6 separate regions of the Homo sapiens genome follow, and regions 2, 3, 4, 5 and 6 are each linked to region 1. Evidence: promoter capture Hi-C in 16 types of primary human blood cells and fetal thymus (Javierre and others, 2016). All regions are on one chromosome and are shown on one strand. Each heading gives the region's core, a stretch centred on a gene start or on the middle of the fragment in contact. The rest is flanking DNA. Distances are from core to core; before and after follow the strand shown. Region 1 holds the start of GJA8 (gap junction protein alpha 8). Region 2 overlaps LINC00624 (long intergenic non-protein coding RNA 624). Region 3 overlaps LINC00624 (long intergenic non-protein coding RNA 624). Region 4 has its middle 8.0 kb from the start of BCL9. Region 5 overlaps BCL9 (BCL9 transcription coactivator). Region 6 overlaps BCL9 (BCL9 transcription coactivator).

Region 1 (3,049 bases), core at 245-2,744:
CATAAGGATACCAACTCCTTATTTTGCCAAACAAGGACATAAAAATAAGAGTTATTGGCTGGGCGTGGTGACTCATGCCTGTAATCCCAGCACTATGGGAGGCCGAGGTGGGAGGATCACTTGAGGTCAGGAGTTCAAGATCAGCCTGGCCAACAGGGTGAAACCCTATCTCTACTAAAAATACAAAAATTAGCTGGGCACGGTGGTGGGGCACCTGTAATCCCAGCTACTTGGGAGGCTGGGGCAGGAGAATTGCTTGAGCCCAGGAGGTGGAGGCTGCAGTGAGCTGAGATCACACCACTGCACTCCAGCCTGGGCAACACAGCGAGACTCTGTCTCAAAAAAAAAAAAAAAGAGTTATTAAATTACTAACTACAACTACAGTCTATTTTCATCATCATTTCATAAAAGGGGATTTTAACACCACAAAACTGGAGAGGACATAACTTCAGAATAAAAGACAAGCCTTTAAATTGAACACACTTAACTTGGTGAAACATTTACTACATTGTTAACTTTATCATTGTCACATTTTGGTCACAGGTTGTGGAAACCTTCATCTTGAGCTAGAACTGACAGATCCCCAGATGGATGTCTGAGAACCAGTGAACTTGGCATTATCAATCCCCATTACCAGACAAAAAGACAGGCTGGGAGGTGAAATGAGTCTCCAAGATGGGGGCTTAGCTAGTGAGGGCAGAGCTAGGCTGTGAGCCCTGGTCTTCTAGATCTAAGCCCATTACAGCATAGCCCTCCTCTGGTTTTGAAGAGGCAGAATAACACATATACATCCATTAATAAGTTATCCAAAGCGTTCAATGGCCACTTACCACTCTGGTTGGTAACCAGGTGGAAAGTGCCTCTTTTCTAGTTTCTAGAACAGCCACTAGCCAGCAGTTCTCATAGATAGACAACAGAACCTGCTCCTAGGAGGAATTTTATGGTCCTTAGCCAGATCCCTTCCTGTGCTCCATTAAATGCTCCAACATGGAAAATGCTGAGCACGAAGCCTCCGCTACCCCCACAGCATTCAGTAATTATGACTATTATTTCTATTGTAGAATTTGAGTGAAAAGGGCACAAAACTTTTTCATAAATATCAAATACTTGGTTTAGGTCCCTGTGGATTCCTGTAGACATGAAAAGAGCTTAAGAAGTCAAATTGTAGTTTGAGTTTGGACATCTCTGTTTCCCCATCCTGCTGATTATTCCAGCATTCCTCTCCCTTCCAAACCTCTGCCAGTTCTTAGGTCAACTTGAAGAGGGTTTTCAGAGTTGGAGTGTAAGTCTAGCCATCCCAGCCCAAGACTGAATCTTATTGGCAACCTTTTTCCTTTTGGAGAAGCCTATATATGGCCCTTAGATTAGGCTGAGAAAGAACAATTGGGGGGAAGGTTACAAACTAATATCACCCAAGGAAAACTTGCCAATACAAGGAGTGTCCCACGGAGAAATATGTGCTCTTTCTCTCTTGGCGCTCAGCAGCAAAATGGCAACTTTCGTCTCTTTCCTTTGCTGCCTAAAAGCCCACCTCCCACTTCTCTACCCCGCCCCTACTGTGCTGCACGACTGAGCAGATATGACTGGATTGGCCCTGATGGGTAGGTTTTACTGTCCAGCAATATTTTAAGCTCCCAGCCAGACAGCTTTTATGAAGGGAGGGATGTTTGGGAAACAATGGGAGTGAGAGAATGGGAGAGCTGTGTTGGGCACTGAGGGGAGGAGGATGGGGAAAGCTGATGTGTGAAAGCTTAGCTGGGGCTTCTGTGCCTCCCAAAGTTTCTTTTAGCAGCAGACTGGGCCTGTACATCAGTAAACCTTTGGCGTCTCTCCAGAGCGCATGAGCCTAGGGGCATTTTCCCAAGGCCTTATCATCAGCTGGGAGAATCTTAATGATGTAGGGACAGTAAGTGGTCAGTTGTGTGAATCCCTCTGCCCTGAGTCACACCAAGAGTGGTTGGTCCTTTCCAAAGGACCATATTTCATTTTTTATTGGTGGTTTGCTCTTGTCTCTCAAAGCCTTCAGCAGAATTGTGGATATTAGAGGCTGGGAAGTGTAGTGGCGGAAGGAAGGATGGGGAGCATGTTGCTAATAGATACAAAAGCACAGCTAGATAGGGGGAATGGGTTCTGGTGGTCTGCAGTGCTGTAGGGTGAATATGGTTAACATTAATTAATTAATTATTTTAATTTTTATATTTTTGTGTGTGTGTGAGACAGAGTCTCGCTCTGCCACCCAGGCTGGAGTGCAATGTCACGATCTTAGCTCACTGCAACCTCTGCCTCTCAGGTTCAAGTTATTCTCCTGCCTCAGCCTCCTGAGTAGCTGGGATAACAGACACCCACAACCACGCCCAGCTAATTTTTTTTTTTCTATTTTTAGTAGAGACGGGGTTTCACCATGTTGGCCAGGCTGGCCTCAGACTCCTGACCTCAGGCGATCTGCCCGCCTTGGCCTCCCCAAATGCTGGGATTACAAGCATGAGCGACCATGCCTGGCCGTTAACTATTTTATTGTATAGTCTCAAAAAGCTAGAGGAGAGGATTTTGATTGTTCCCAACAGAAAGAAATGATAAATGTTTGAGATGCTGAATATGCTAATTATCCTGATTTGATCATTACACATTGTATACATGTATTGAAATATCACTGTGTATCACAAATACGTACAATTATTATGTGTCAACTAAACATAAAAGGAAAGAGCTTTCTAAAAAGATCAAAACAATAAAAAAGAAACACAAACAAACCTTCAGCAGGGTGGTCTCCCTCTTTGAAAGGAGCCTTAACACTCCAAAGAATTCTGGTGCCATTTGTCAAAGTAATAGCCTTTCTCACCACGTTTCACTTATAATTACATATACTTTTGAGTAGCGGAAGTTCAATCAATGTCAGCTAACATTTTTAGACTTTAGTGCCTTCATCTGTTAAATGGGGATATGATGGTTTTGCTCACCAGGAGGCTCTTGGATTAAATTCTAATGTGGCTTAATGAGGAATGATGCTTGGAGGGCATGGACATATGCTCTCTGAGGCCCACTCCCGTCC
Region 2 (3,049 bases), core at 376-2,875, 450 kb after region 1:
AACTGAGCTGGGAATCTGCATGTACTCCTGGAAATTTCTTATGTGCGTGTTTTATTCTGTCTTCTCTGTTAACTGCATAAACTTCGAGTCATTTGAAAATCAGTGACATGGTTTTTTTTAACTCCTCATATCAAAAAGGTAGATATGAAAATCTCTTTTATAGGTAGCTGTCTAGATGTATTCACAGGAAGAAATGAAATTCCTCATGGAAGGTGGTTCTGTAAGAGTTTACTTTGGGAAACTGATCCAAACACCACCCAGTCTATGGATATCTAAATTAGAAAAGTGAATATAAATTTTCAGGGATTTTCTAAAATAGGGTTTCTGAGGTTGCACACACTACTTATTATAAGCGCCTTGAAATGTGACTTCATATTAGTTGAAGTCAGTTCCTGAGGAACATATTCATGGGGCATTAAAAAAAATCTCTCTATATATGTCTACCTATAACTTTTTTTCCTTAGTTTGACTGGCTAATCTAATTTCTTGTGGGCCAGGGGGATAAGATGGGATAAGTAGTAATGTGAATCTATTTTTTCTTATTCTTTCTTTCTTTTTTTTTTTTTCCCAGACAGGGTTTTGCTCTGTTGGCTCTGTTGCCTGGGCTAGAGTGCAGTGGTGCAATCTTGGCTCTCTGCAGCTTCAACCTCCCAGGCTGTCAGTCCTCCCACTTCAGCCTCCTGAGTGGCTGGGACCACAGGCATGCACCACCACACCTGGCTAATTTTTTGTATTTTTTGCAGAGACGGGATTTGGACATGTTTCCCAGGCCGATCACAAACTCCTGGGTTCAAGTGGTCTGCCAACCTCAGCCTCCCAAAGTGTTGGGATTACAGGGTGAGCCACTGTGCCCAGCCTTATTTTTTCTTATTACTCATCATCCCTGATATAGTTTGGATATTTCACCCTCCAGATTTCATGTTGAAATTTGATCCCAGATGTTATAAGCGGGGCCTAGTGGGAGGTTTGGCTCATGGGGGCAAATCTGTCATGAACAGCTTGGTGCCATCCTTGCAGTAATGAGTGAGTTCTCATTCTATTAGTTCACGTCATGACTGATTGTCAAAAAGCCTGGCATCTCCTCCTCTCTCTCGTTCTTTCTCTCTCGCCACTTTACATGCCAGCTCCACTTCCCTTTCTGTCATGATTGGAAGCTTCCTGAGACCCTCACCAGAAGATGCTGGTGCCATGCTTCTTGTACAGCCTGCAGAACTGTAAGCCAAAAAAAACTCTTTTATTTATGAACTACCCAGCATCAGGTGTTCCTTTAGAGCAATGCAAAAAGGACTGAGACAATCACCACCATCGTCATTAAAATTTATTATTAGCAATCACCACCTATGCATGACACTTTCTGTAATATAATATACACTTGTCCCTTAGAATTTAAATTCGTATTCCTAGGAATAGGTAGCCTCATTGTAAACCCTCTCCTGTACAATAATGACTTTATTCTCCATGATCACATGGAGATAGATAGATTTCATAGAAAAAAATAATTTGAGGGTGATTTTTCTTAGACTGATTCTGTACCAAAAAATTGGCTTTAAAAGAATCTTGCTTAGGCCGGGCGTGGTGGCTCACGCCTGTAATCCCAGCACTTTGGGAGGCCGAGGAGGGCAGATCACGAGGTCAGGAGTTGGAGACCAGCCTGGACAACATGGTGAAATCCTGTCTCTACTAAAAATACAAAAATTGGCTGGGCGTGGTGGCACACGCCTGTAATCCTAGCTACTCAGGAGACTGAGGCAGAAGAATTGCTTGAACCTGGCGGGCGGAGGTTGCAATGAGCCGAGATCACACCACTGCACTCCAGCCTGGGCAACAGGGTAAGGCTCCATCTCAGAAAAAAAAAAATCTTGCTTAATAGTTTCAAAGTATGTTTTTCTTTAATGATTAAATTGATTTTAGTATAATGCATCCAATCAAAACCCAATGAGTTGCTTTGAAAAGATGCAACATTTTTACATACTTGAATTCAAACAGTATTTTTCAAACTGGGTAATGGATAGAAACAAACGTTAGATAATGATAGCCAGCACTAGTTAAATTTATATTATGTGCTAACTTTTTACATGTATTACATCTAAGCTTTTTACATGTATTAACTTATTTGATTCACATAATAACCTATAAGACAACCTACCACACCCATTTTGGAGATAAATAAACTGAAGCACAGAGGGTTTAAGTCATATAATAATTATTAATAGTGATACCTGATAATATCTTATATTTGCAAACTGCTCTATAGTCTGGAAAGCCAATGCATTCTTATCTTTGATTCTGAGAATTCAAGGCATGTGATTAATATGCCAGTACAGCTTTCATTAAAAATTCCAAATCTCAGGGGCTTCAGGAGCTTAAAGTATTTAAATTTCAATAGAAAGTTGGTACTGAAGTTAAGCATAAATAATTTTAAAATGTAAGTATAAACTCTGGAAAATAAGCATGGGGGTCTTAAAAGAGGAATTTTTTTTTTTTTTGCTTTGGCAATAAATGAAATGTTTTGTTGACTAACCTTAAGGGGTTTGTTTCCTCAAAAGAAACAAAATGGGCATAAACTAGAGTAACTGATGTGCTTTTGAAAGTCCTTACAGCACATCAGGGAAACATCTACTTATATTTAATTTCAATAACACAAAGCAATGATTAAAATTTTTAAATCAAATGTTCATGTTGCCCAGTAAATTGCTGATCTACTTAAACCACACACACGCACACGTGCATGCATGCTCTCACACACACACTCAGAATACCAGTATGTAGGACAATTTCTCTAAAAGAAAACCAAATTATTTCAGGTGCTTGTGGTGAAGTTAATTTATTGCCATGAATATATGAATTATTTTCACCTGGCCTAGATTTCTATTTGTAAGCTCTCCCATAATATGAGTGCCTAGAACCAGATGGCATATTCAGAGGTCATTGTGCAGGCCAGTGTGTTCCCAAACTTGAACGTGCATGTAAATAACCTGCAGTTCCAGTAAGTTCCCAGGCAACACCAATGCTGCTGACCCAGGGACCACACTTGAGCGACAAGTGTAAG
Region 3 (3,049 bases), core at 340-2,839, 430 kb after region 1:
TCACATGCCTGAACTTAACTAGGATGTTCCAAATCGTGTTGTGTATGGATACATATTAGGCAGTATTATAATAATAACATATTGAAAACTTACTAGATGCCAGAATTTGTTGAAATTGGTTTACGTGTATTAGCTATTTAATCCTTACAACACTGAGGTCATACCGTTATTCTCATTTTGTAGATGAGAAATTCAAGGCGTAGAGGGGTTAAGTGGCTATAATAATGTTATGAATTATTAGATAATATGCCATATTATATACTTATGAAATGATATGTTTTAAAAATACTTTGAAATATTTAAAGCACATGAAAAATAATGCACGCTACTTATTCTTTATTCCAAGCATTCAAGACACATGATTAATAGGCAAACGTAGCTTTTATTAAAAATTCCAAATCTCAGAGTCTCCAGGATCTTTTGAAGTATTTATTATTCAATAGAAACTTGATACTGAAGTTAAAATGCAACAATTCCTAAAGCTAAATTTAAATGGTAGAAATATAATAAGCCTAGAAGGTCCAAAGAAATACAGGCATACCTCAACAGCGTTGCAGGTTTGGTTTCAGACCACTGCAACAAAGCAAATATTTCAATAAAATGAGTCATACGAATTTTTTGGTTTTCCAGTGCATATGAAAGTTATGTTTACACTATACTGTGGTCTGTTAAGTGTGCAGTAGCATTATGTATAAAAACAATGTACATACCTTAATTTATTGCTAAAAATACTAATCTTCTGAGCCTTCAGCAAGTCTTAATATTTTTGCTAGTGAAGAGTCTTGCCTCGGTGTTGGCTACTGATTGATCAGGGTGGTGGTTGCTAAAGGTTAAGGTGGCTGTGGCAATTTGGTAACATAAGAGACCAATAAAGTTTGCTACATTGATGGATTCTTCCTTTCACAAAAGATTTTTCTGTAGCATATGATGCCATTTGATAGCATTTTACCCACAGGAGAAGGCCTTTCAAAATTGGAGTCAATCCTCTGAAACCCTATTGCTGCTTTATTAACTAAGCTTATGTAACATTCTAAGTCCTTTGATTACAGTTAAACAATGTTCATAGTATCCTCACCAGGAGTAGATTCCATCTCAAGAAACTGCTTTCTTTGCTTATCCGTAAGAACCAACTTTTTGTCCATTCAAATTTTATCATGACATTGAAGCAATTTGGTTACATCTTCAGTTTCTACTCCTAATTCTAGTTCTCTTGCTACATCCACCATATTCGCAGTTACTTCCTCCATCAAAGTCTTGAACCCTCCAAAGTCATCCATGAGAGTTAGAATTAACTTCTTCCAAAATCCTGTTCACTTTGACATTTTTGACCTCCTAAGAATCACAAATGTTCTTAATAGCGTCTAGAATAGTGAATCCTTTCCAGAGGACTTACAATTTATTTTGCCCAGATCCATCAGAGGAGTCACTATCTACGGCAACTAGAGCTTTACAAACTGTATTTCTTAAATAATAAGACTTGAAGGCAAAATTACTCCCTGGTACATGGGCTGTAAAATGGTGGTCGTGTTAGCAGGCATGACAACAACACTGATCTCATTATATATCTCTATCAGGCTCTTGGATGGCCATGTGAATTGTCAATGAGTAATATTTTGGAATAGATTTTTTTTTAAGCAGTAAGTCTCAACGGTGGGCTTAAAATGTTCAGTAAATCACACCGTCAACAAATGTGCCATTATCCAGGCTTTATTGTTGTATTTACAGGGCACAGGCAGGGCAGGTTTAGCATAATTCTTTTTTTTTTTGAAATGGAGTCTTGCTCTGTCACCCAGGCTGGAGTGCAGTGGTGCGATCTCAGCTCACTGCAAGCTCCGCCTCCTGGGTTCACGCCATTCTCCTACCTCAGCTTCCTGAGTAGCTGGGACTACAGGCGCCCGCCACCACGCCCAGCTAATTTTTTTGTATTTTTAGTAGAGACGGGGTTTCACCGCATTAGCCAGGATGGTCTCGATCTTCTAACCTCGTGATCCTCCCGCCTTGGCCTCCCAAAGTGCTAGGATTACAGGCTTGAGCCACTGCACCTGGCCAGGTTTAGCATAATTCTTAAGAGCCCTAGGATTTGCAGAATGGTAAATGAGCATTGGCTTCAGCTTAAAGTTACCAGCTGCAGTAGACTATCAGCACGGCCTTTGAAGCTTTGAAGCCAGGCATTGACTTCTCTCTAGCTATGAAAGTCCTAGATGACATGTTCTTCCATCTTCATCAATGTGGGTGAAGGTTGTTTCATCTACATTGAAAATTTGTTGTTTAGTGTAGCCACCTTCCTCAATTATCTTAGCTAAATCTTGACAACTTGCTGCAGCTTCCACATCAGCACTGGCTGCTTCACTTTGTACTTTTATGTTATAAACACCAAACTCTGATAGCTTCAAACTTTTCTTTTGCAGCTTTCTCACCTCTCTTAGCCTTCATAGAACTGAAGGGAGTAAGGGCCTTCCTCTGGGTTAGGCTTTGGCTTAAGGGAATGTTGTGGCTGGTTTGATCTTCCACCCAGACCACTAAAACTTTCTCCATATTAACAATGAGGTTATGACATTTTCTTCTTATTCACATGTTCACTGGAGTAGTGCTTTTAGTTTCCTTTGAGAACTTTTCCTTTGCATTCACTACCTGGCTAACTATTTGGTGCAAGAGGCATAGATTTTGGCTTATCTCAGCTTTTGACATGCTTAATCATTTACTAGTTACTTAGCTTAATCATTTCTAGCTTTTGATTTAAGATGAGAGACATGTGACACTTCCTTTTACTTGAACACTTAGAGGCCATTGGAGAGTTATTATTGGCCTAATTTCAATATTGGTGTGTCTTAGGAAATAAGGAGGCCTTTGGAGAGGGGGAGAGATGAACAGGGGAATGGTGAGTTGGTAGAACAGTCAGAACACACACAACATTAATCGATTAGGTTTGCCATCTTATAAGAGTGTGGTTTTTGCACCTCAAACAATTAAAATAGTCACACCAAAGATCAATAATCACAGATTAACATAGCAGACAAAATAATAATGGAAAAATTTGAACTATTATGAG
Region 4 (3,049 bases), core at 394-2,893, 370 kb after region 1:
GCTCCTCTTGCAGAAGGAGCAGCCAGGATTGTACCTTATTAGAACCCCAGATATGAAAGTCTTAGAATGTCTATTATGAACATGGTATATGTGTAATAATACAACTGATATTTCAGTAGGACAGAAAAGCCACTTTGTCCTGTCCTAAACTCCTTCTAATGAAGATGTGGAAAGGAGCTTAGAACACTCTGAAAAAGGCCTTATGAATTGATATGAGCCAAAGCAAGGAAGGCACAAACTAGAACAAGTTGCATTTGCTATGGGCTGTGTTTGTAACGCCCCTTCCCTGAAATATGCTTCTGCCTGAAGCTTGCAGCTCATCAGAGCAGAAAGAGGCAGCAGAGACACCAGTGGGAGCAACTGATTTTGGTAAACAATGAACCAACTTCTCCCCCAGGGGAGCAGATCAGAGGAGATGTAATAAACTATGGAGAGAAACTCTCCAGCCATTTGCAGTGACTCATTCGCCAGAAAGAGACTGCTTCTTCTGATTGACCTTGGCTGCTGCAATGGTGTTGAACATGAGCTTACGCTGGCCTTGGTTAATGGGCAGAGAGTTTCAGGTATGACCTGGGGCACTCAGCTGTTCTCAGGGCTGCTTAGATGCCTGCAGAGGCAACAGCTACCTAGGCCACTAGCCACAGCTAAGTAGATTCTCTGCTGAAACTAATCTTGAATTCAGTTTGGACTGATTCTGAGAGGGCTATGTATAAAAGGATTTCTCACCAGCTGGGCTCCAGAGTTCGAGTTGTTCTGCCCTACAGAGCTAGATGGAGATAATTGCTCTGAAACTATTATAGTTGCATTCATAGTACATCTGGATCTGAGGTTGTTTGACCTCTGAAAACCTAAAATGGAAATAATGCAATTATCTGAGCTAAAGACAATTTAATAAAAAGCAGTACTGAAGCCAGGAAAAGGAAATTTATCTTTTATACCATGTCTTTTGCCTAGCAATGGAATGTGTACCTTTCATAAAGATGAAAGATGCATGAAAGGCTGAATAGAAGGTAGTGTTTTTCATTCAGTTCAATAAGTGTTTGCTATTACCTATTACGTGCAAAAGACTGTGCTAGGTCTGGGGACACCAAAATGAGGAAGACTTTTTCCCTGTTCTAAAGGAGCATTTCATCTAGATAGTAGAAAAGAGAAAGATGTACACTAGTAACCATGACACAGCCATCATGAAATAAATGAAGCCAGCAAGTATTATAGGCATTTTGAAGTGCCTGCACAACACATTCCCTCTGTTTTTGGAAAATAATCCCTAGACTACCTGTTCAGTTAAGCTTCTGCACTTATATTTATACTGTATGACCAGTTTCCCTGGCCAATCAGATTCTCTCTCCCATAAATTTATTTATTTATTTTGAGACAGAGTCTAGCTCTGTCTCTCAGGCTGGAGTACAGTGGTGCGATCTCAGCTCACTGTAACCTCCGCCTCCGGGTTCAAGCGATTCTCCTGCCTCGGCCCCTGAGTAGTTGAGATTACAGGCACACATCACCATGCCTGGTTAATTTTTGAATTTTTAGAAGAGACGGGCTTTCACCATGTTGACCAGGCTGGTATCGAACTCCTAACCTCAGGAGATCTACCCACCTCGGCCTCCCTAAGTGCTGGGATTACAGGCATGAGTCACGGTGCCTGGCCTTCTCCCAGATATTTAAAAGTAGGGTTCACGGAAGCTAGTTGATCTCTATTAGTTCTTGAACTGATAAAACTGATGAGGAAAAAAAAAAAGAAATAGACCCACTCAGAGACAAAGAGATAAGAATCCATGTGGCCCAAGCCAGAGAGAGAGAGAGAGAGAGAGAGAGAGAGAGAGAGAGAGAGAGAGAGAGAGAGACAGAATGAAGCCCGAAGCCCTGGTGGAGGTTTCCTGAATTTAGGCACACTAAGATGTTCCTAGTTCTAAATGATTCCCCTTTCTCCCTCCCCCTAGACTGGTTCTAATGGATTCCTTTTGCTTGCACCAATAGAGTGAAAGTGAAGCTTTGTGGTTCAACCCAACCCTTCTCAGTTGCCAAGCACTGTGCTAGTTCTGGATGAACAGCAGTAAATTGAACACGCAAGGAGTTTGAGGCTTCATAGGAATTTTGGTATGGGGGACACCCAGTGTTTAGTATATACTATAAAGAAGTGCTGAGAGGACTCTGAGGAGGCAGCAACTTTTAATTCTTCAGGGGGATTTTAACAGGTGTGGTGGGATCGTGCATCTCAAGAAGAGGAAAAGGCGCTTCTCACTGAAAAGGGACGGAGGTTATATTAAGATGTTACTTCTACGCTTCATTGCCCCTCTAATCTTCAACCTGGCTCCAGAATGGCAAGCTAGTTTGCTCCCTGTGACCTACAGGCCAAATCCAGCCAGCCACCTGTTTTTACACAGTACAGCAAGCTCAGAATGGTTATTACATTTTTAAATAGTGGTTGGAAAAAAATTAAAAGAATATTTCATGGCACCTGAAAATTATAGGAAATTCAAATATCAATCTCCATAAAGTTGTATTGGGGTTGGGCATGGTGGCTGACACCTGTAATCCCAACGTTTTGGTAGGCAGAGGTGGGAGGATCACTTGAAGCTAGGAGTTCAAGACCAGCCTGGGCAACATAGTAAGACCTCATTTCTACAAAAAAATTAAAAATTAGCCAGGCATGGTGGTGCATGCCTGTAGTCCCAGCTACTCAGGAGGCTGAGGCAAGAGGATGGTTTGAGCCCAGGAGTTCCAGGTTACAGGGAGCTATGATGGCACGACTGTACTTGACAACAGAGTAAGACCTTGTCTCAAAAAAAAAAGTTTTATTGGAACATGGCCACTCTCATTTATTCACATATTGTCTATGGTTGCTTTTGCACTACAACCACAGCATTAAGTAGCTGCAACGGAGACCGTATGGTCTGCAAAGCTTAAACTGTTTTTGTCTGGTCCTTCACATAAAAAAGGTTGCTGACCTGGCTGGGCTCAGTGGCTCACGCCTGTTATCCCAGCACTTTGAGAGGCCGAGGCAGGTGGATCACCTGAGGTCAGGAGTTCGAGACCAACCTGGCCA
Region 5 (3,049 bases), core at 345-2,844, 350 kb after region 1:
TTGAGCAATCCACAATGAATCCAAGATCTTTTTCCTGAGCACTTACAAGTAGAGTAATTCAGAGCCCATCAGTGAGTATGAGCTGTTTCAATTGTTCCTTCCAGTGTACATTAGTTTGCACTTGTCTACATAAAATTTCAAAGAATCATAGATATTGAAGATGGAAAAGACCAGTTAGTTTATCAAACCTGCCAACTCTGCTGGCAAAAGCAAGCAAAGGAAGTAATCCTATCAGTTCATACTATTTTAATGATGCTTATTAATAATAATTACAATTACTGCTTATATTACATGGTGTCTTTCATCCCAAAATCAGTTAAGATGCTTTTTATTTTTAAGGCAGCATTTCTTTTCCAAAAGGGAACTAGGGCACAGACATCAATGTTACCATACTCAAAGCAAATCCAATGAAGCCAAGAATTCAATTCAGTTGAGTTCAATAAACATCTCTGAGCACAACCACTTGTAAGGAGAGGAACTCTGCTGGATGCTCTTGGAGATGCAGAGGTGAACAGGACCTAAATCCTTACCCTCTGGTTTACTCTCTATTAAGGGATTTGTGATAGTGAACACATATAGCTAATATGATCATTCTAAGCAAAGTAGAATATAGCATGGATGCAAGAGTCCTCTGGCTCTAGGAATTGAAAAAGACCGTGCAGAATGTGACATTTGAGCCAGTCCTTGAAATAAGAATGAGTCTAATGTCCATCTGCAGAGTTTGGGAAAAGAGAAGCTAAGTAAAGAACCAAACCAAAACAGAATAAGAGAGCTTAGCTGAGGTTCTACCTTACAGTGTAAAGACCAGTCAGTATGCACTTTGTCACAGCAAGTGAACAAAGTCCATAATGCAGAAGATGTCTACTAGGCCCTCTTTAAACAGGATTCGGATGTAGAAACTCAATATAACTGAACAACCTGAAACAACCACCAGAATATACTGACTACTAATCATGAATATACTTATGGAGACAAGGCAGAATGTTTTAAATTAGGACTGTCTCCAAAAAAACCACCAAATCCAGAAAGCCTGGTATTGTATGTAAAAAAAAAAAAATTGGAAATTCCCAACTGCAGACTAAAATCTCAAAGAGTAGATGAATAAATGACCCATCTGTCAGTACCTTAGTACTCCTTTGTACTGCACAAGAACTCACACTAGTGTCCCATATGGTCACACCAGGGATTTATAGGCCCTTGTTAGATTGCTGTTCAACTCTAGAACCCAAACCTAGAAAGCGTAGAACAGGGTATTTCATTGTGTGATTCCTTCAACAGAACTCTGGGTAAGTACAGACTAGGAAAATGCCAATATAGTCTTATGGTTAGTAAGAGTGGATATTTCTCTGCTTTCACTCAAGGAAACTAATCTTTAAAAGCATTATTATCTGTTAATCTTTTCGTTTGTTTGTTTGTTTTATTTTTTGAGACAGAGTTTCACTCTTTTTGCCCAGGCTGGAGTGCAATGGTGCGATCTCAGCTCACTGCAACCTCTGCCTCCTGGGTTCAAGTGATTCTCCTGCCTCAGTCTCCCGAGTAGCTGGGATTACAGGCATGCGCCACCACGCCTGGCTAATTTTGTATTTTTTAGTAGAGACAGGGTTTCCATGTTGGTCAGGGTGGTCTCGAACTCCTGACCTCAGTTGTTCCACCCGCCTTGGCCTCCCAAAGTGCTAAGATTACAGGTGTGAGCCACTGCACCTGGCCTCAATCTATTATTCAGTCATTACAATGCTACTTTATATCACCCTTTATAAAACCACTGGTGTGAAGAAAAACTAAACTATAGAAGACGTCTAGTACTTCCACATTCATCCCTCAAGGACCATTGCAAATGTCATCTCCTTCATGAAGTGTTCCCCAATTCCTTCCACCATTATTCCCTTCACCACCAAATTAATTGTTCTCTCCCGTGACTACCACAGTTCTTTTGATCCATTGGTATATGCTTTATAATTAGTTCTGTGAATATCTGTCTCTCTCCACCAGGATGAAAGCACCTTAAAGGTAGGGATTCAAGCCTCAGTCATCTTGCACCCCACAATGCCAAGCTAATTTTCATTGCCTGACATACAACAGATATTTATCATATTTGTTAAATCACTTCCTCAGGTCTCAGAGACCTTATTTTGACATATTTAAATTATTAAAACTTTTAAAAGTCTATACCTTAGTCCATTTTCTGCTGCTGTAACAGGATACCACAGACTGCGTCATTTATAAAGAAAAGAAATTTATTTGCTAGAGTCTGGAAAGTCCAAGATTAAGGGGCCACATCTTGTGAGGGTCACTCCATAGCAGAAGGCATCACATGGTGAGTGAACATGTGGGCATGGCAGAGGGAAAATGGGGGCCAAATTCATCCTTTTATCGGGAGCCCACTCCCTTGATAACTAACCCACTCCCAAGATAACAGTGCTAATCCATTCATGAGGATGAAGCCCTTATGACCTCTCCGCCTCTTAAAGGTCTTACCTGTTAATACTGTCATAATGGCAATTAAATTTGAACATAAGTTATGGAGGGAACAGCTGAACCGTAACAGTACCCTATCCAAAACTTATCCTTGACTAACCATGGCACTCAGAGTCAGAGACCCTAATAGGTGTGTGCCTGCCACTATCCTTCATTCAATCAGCATGTACCTTTGGCTGTGCACTGAAGAAGTACTGCCCTTAACAAGACCTGAGCCTTGACTCAGTCACTTAGCAATTATATGACTTTGGAAATCCTTTGCGGTCAGACTGACCCAGCTTTAGATAGACTTACACTCTAGTTGTCACTTACTAATTGGATGATGTTGGGCAAGTTATACTCTCTAGACCGCAGTGTCCTCAACTATGAGATGAAGGTATTAATAGCACCTATCGCAGTTTGAATGAGACAATGCCTGGAAGAGTTTAGCTCAGTGTGTGGCACATAGCAAATACTCAATTATTATTATTGTCTCCTCATTTATAAAGTAGAAATAATAATACAAGTCCCTCAGGATTGTTATAAGGAATAAATGATACAAAAAGTGGAATTTTACCCAGCACATTGTTCTGTC
Region 6 (3,049 bases), core at 170-2,669, 330 kb after region 1:
ACAAAATAACGTAATGATGGTACCTTTTATATCAACAGGCATTTCTCTTTTGACGATAACGGATAGATTCTGCAAACCTATTACAGTCAAAAGAGAAATGTCTGTTGATATAAAAGGTATCGTCTTTACATTATTTTGCACACTGTAGGCAACTTAAGGTCACCAGAGGAGGCGGGTGAGAAAGTGACAAGAGACCAGCAGTAAGTTTCCTCACATAAGTTCCCTACAGTGACTGGAACCTATCAGCTTGGCTTCTTTATTGCTGGTATTGAGATAAATCGCCACACAGAAACATCATCTAGGAGTTAATCAGAACAGAAAACTCAGGAAGATTCAGGACCCACACTGGATACCATTATTGTCATAAGTCAAGCAGCATTTCTCCTTCATTAGTACCATATTTCATTACAGTATATCACCACAATGTTTAGTAATAGTTTTACAAGAAAATAGACTTCAAAGCTTTGTGCCTTTGGTTTCTATGTAGTGAATTTCTCATTATAACTTTTTATCTTTGCTTAAACTGAAAAGTGAACGAATTGACCTTTATGAGTCAGTGTGCACTCCGGTGTTTTACCAAGAAATAATACCTTTAAAATGATATATTTGCGTATGCATAGAATATTCCAGAAAGATATGCAAAACTGATTATCTCTAGAGTGGCCGGGAGATGAGAGAAAGGTGGAAGGGGCCTTTTCACTTAGACATTTTTGTGAATTTTATACTTTGTGCAAGTATCATCTACTAATTTTTAATAATTATGTTAAAACTTTTTTAAAGAATAAACAAAAATTCTTGTTAAGGTTCTTAATCCCTGAATATATTTCAGCAGTGACCAAGATTAAATAGCAATGATTTCCCAAGGGTCAAAGGCATTGGCTCCATTCTGATCTAGCCTGTTTCTTATTCCCCCGCAATGCATCATGTGGCATGTTTTCTTTTAAATATCCAAAAAAGTTAATTTGAAAAAAAAACTGAGAATTTTATGTCATCATTCAAAATAACTGGAGATTCTTAGGGTGTGCCAAAACCACAGCTGGGAATCACTGAAATACAGATTCTGAAAGTGTTAGGTACATTTTTAAAGATTGCAGAATCCAGTGATGTATAAATGCATATAAGTTCTACCTGCATTTATACATCACATTAGTTTACTCTAATTCTCTTGGGCTTATTAAATTCAATGACCAATTATTTGAATATGCACACAAAAATCTAAATTATAACATCAGGCTGAAGCATTAAGTAGATAAATATAGTGAATGGTTAAGGCATGTATTGCAAAATTTTTAAACAGCACTTTGAAATGAGAGGAAAGAAAATCTCTATTCCCCTATCCTTCCTCAAAATACATGTTTATTATAGTTTTGCTACCTAGAAACTTTGGAGTTTTTAACATTAAAAAAAAGGAAGCATGATGTAATGGAAAACACAGGACTACAGAATCACACAGAGTTGGGTTCAAATCATCCAACCTGTCAGTTGGGTAACTTCTGACAATTCATTTGGCTCTTACTCCTCGAACACCTGCTACATTGCTGGCACTTAGCTTGGTGTTGGGCACTGGGCAAAAGCAGTGAACAAGGCAAAAATGAGCTTATGGTTTGGTGGGAAAGGCAGACAATGAAATTATATTAAAGTGTATGAAGGAAAATTACAAGGAGCTGTGTCAGGAAACCAACATGGTCTAGGGATCAGAAGTAGCTTTCTAGAGGAGTGATGCTCAAGGCAAGACCTGAAGGGTAACACAGACTTAGTTGGGTGAAGCAACTCCCTCATCTTCAGGTCCTTATTTGTAAAACAGGGACTGTAATAGCTGCCTCAGAGGGCTTTTTGAAGTTTTAATGAATTTGATATTGAAAGCATTTAGCACAGCATCCAGCACATAGTAAATGCTCAATAAACAGTAGCTATTATTATTCGTCTTTTTTGTACAGTCTTCTCTGGTTATATATGAGTCAGCCCTCAAAGGTTTAAAAGTTACAAAGTGGCCCCTCAACCATATACTTCTGTTTTCCTATACTTGCTACATGGGAGTCAAAGTGTGGAGTAGACCAAGGGCTCATCCTCTCTGGAAAAATGCCTTTGGCTCAGAGCTGTACACTCACCTTGGCCACTGAGGTAGGTCCCCATATCTTTTTTGTCACAGGGTTAACATGTTATGTGAGTCAGATCTAAAATTTTGGCCCCTTCAAAGGCTGCTGGGTCTCTCTGTTTAATCAGACATGAAACAAATCGCGTGCTGTGGCAGAGGCGTACAAACACGCTTTAATTACAATATTGTAACACCAATTAGAGATCTATCTAATCGAGGACTCGGCACTTCCTGCTCGGATATTACTCCCATGTTGGGATAATTACTGCTAATTAAGCTTGGAACTAATTAGGCTAAATGATCTCATTTATACCAACAAAGATGACTTCTAGGAGTTCATAAGAAAAACTAGGGTGATTTTATCATTCCTGGACTATTTGGCATTTCACACTGGAAATAAAACACCTTCCCCTGACATGGAGGTGCACAGATGGTTGGTTCCTCTGGAATTCTGGTCCTAAATGGCAGTAGGTTCTTCATTTGTCTACACAGATTCTCCTATACGGTGAAACAAATACTGTAAAAACATTGTCCACTCACATTGCACTACGTTCTTCCACAAATGACAACTGCGGTGTCAGGAAGGGGCTGCCACTGAGAGTGGACACAGTGGCAAAAGCTGACCCCCACACAGCCTTGTCCAGAGTGCCTTTTGCCTTGCAGTTATATTTATAAGACCTCAATATTCTTACCACAGTCATCACAGGATAGAGTGATGGGTTTGAGGGTCAGACAAGCCTAGGTTTATGTAAACTAGTCTGCCTAAGCCTCAGTTTTCTGTCTCTAGAGTAGGGATAATAACAATGTCATATAGTGATTCTGTGAGGATTAAAGAGGTAACATATATATAATGCAGGATAGTACTTGGCACATAGTAGCCCTCAATGAGCCCTCACTAGGATTTTTTTTTTCCCTTCAAGGCACCATAATATCCACCTCTGAACTAAGCTCCAC

What was found. The method cuts DNA at HindIII sites, captures the fragments that hold promoters and counts their contacts. A CHiCAGO score of 5 or more calls a contact.
Region 2: a fragment that was not itself captured here is called in contact with the fragment with the promoter of GJA8 in region 1 in 6 of 17 cell types (erythroblasts, total CD8 T cells, activated CD4 T cells and 3 more); the score reaches 6.8 in erythroblasts.
Region 3: a fragment that was not itself captured here is called in contact with the fragment with the promoter of GJA8 in region 1 in 6 of 17 cell types (naive CD8 T cells, M0 macrophages, M2 macrophages and 3 more); the score reaches 6.2 in naive CD8 T cells.
Region 4: a fragment that was not itself captured here is called in contact with the fragment with the promoter of GJA8 in region 1 in 1 of 17 cell types (total CD8 T cells); the score reaches 5.3 in total CD8 T cells.
Region 5: a contact is called between a fragment that was not itself captured here and the fragment with the promoter of GJA8 in region 1, in 1 of 17 cell types (neutrophils). The highest score is 5.2, in neutrophils.
Region 6: a contact is called between a fragment that was not itself captured here and the fragment with the promoter of GJA8 in region 1, in 4 of 17 cell types (naive B cells, neutrophils, naive CD4 T cells and 1 more). The highest score is 5.8, in naive B cells.

Annotation. Positions count from the first base shown.
Region 1 is chr1:147,901,240-147,904,288 of GRCh38, reverse strand. It overlaps GJA8 (gap junction protein alpha 8), which reads right to left and starts at 1,494. Exons shown (of 2, transcript NM_005267.5): 1 at 1,428-1,494. The HindIII fragment of the contact is 6,753 bases long and covers 1-1,752 here.
Region 2 is chr1:147,452,926-147,455,974 of GRCh38, reverse strand. The region is part of intron 3 of LINC00624 (long intergenic non-protein coding RNA 624); the gene reads left to right. Among named protein-coding and RNA genes, the nearest start is that of LINC00624, 63 kb to the left of the region's middle. The HindIII fragment of the contact is 937 bases long and covers 1,157-2,093 here.
Region 3 is chr1:147,473,254-147,476,302 of GRCh38, reverse strand. All of the region lies in intron 3 of LINC00624 (long intergenic non-protein coding RNA 624), which reads left to right. Among named protein-coding and RNA genes, the nearest start is that of LINC00624, 43 kb to the left of the region's middle. The HindIII fragment of the contact is 1,139 bases long and covers 1,020-2,158 here.
Region 4 is chr1:147,531,993-147,535,041 of GRCh38, reverse strand. No RefSeq gene overlaps it. Among named protein-coding and RNA genes, the nearest start is that of BCL9, 8.0 kb to the left of the region's middle. The HindIII fragment of the contact is 704 bases long and covers 1,292-1,995 here.
Region 5 is chr1:147,550,984-147,554,032 of GRCh38, reverse strand. All of the region lies in intron 1 of BCL9 (BCL9 transcription coactivator), which reads right to left. Among named protein-coding and RNA genes, the nearest start is that of BCL9, 11 kb to the right of the region's middle. The HindIII fragment of the contact is 6,253 bases long and covers 1-3,049 here.
Region 6 is chr1:147,573,923-147,576,971 of GRCh38, reverse strand. The region is part of intron 1 of BCL9 (BCL9 transcription coactivator); the gene reads right to left. Among named protein-coding and RNA genes, the nearest start is that of BCL9, 34 kb to the right of the region's middle. The HindIII fragment of the contact is 1,910 bases long and covers 465-2,374 here.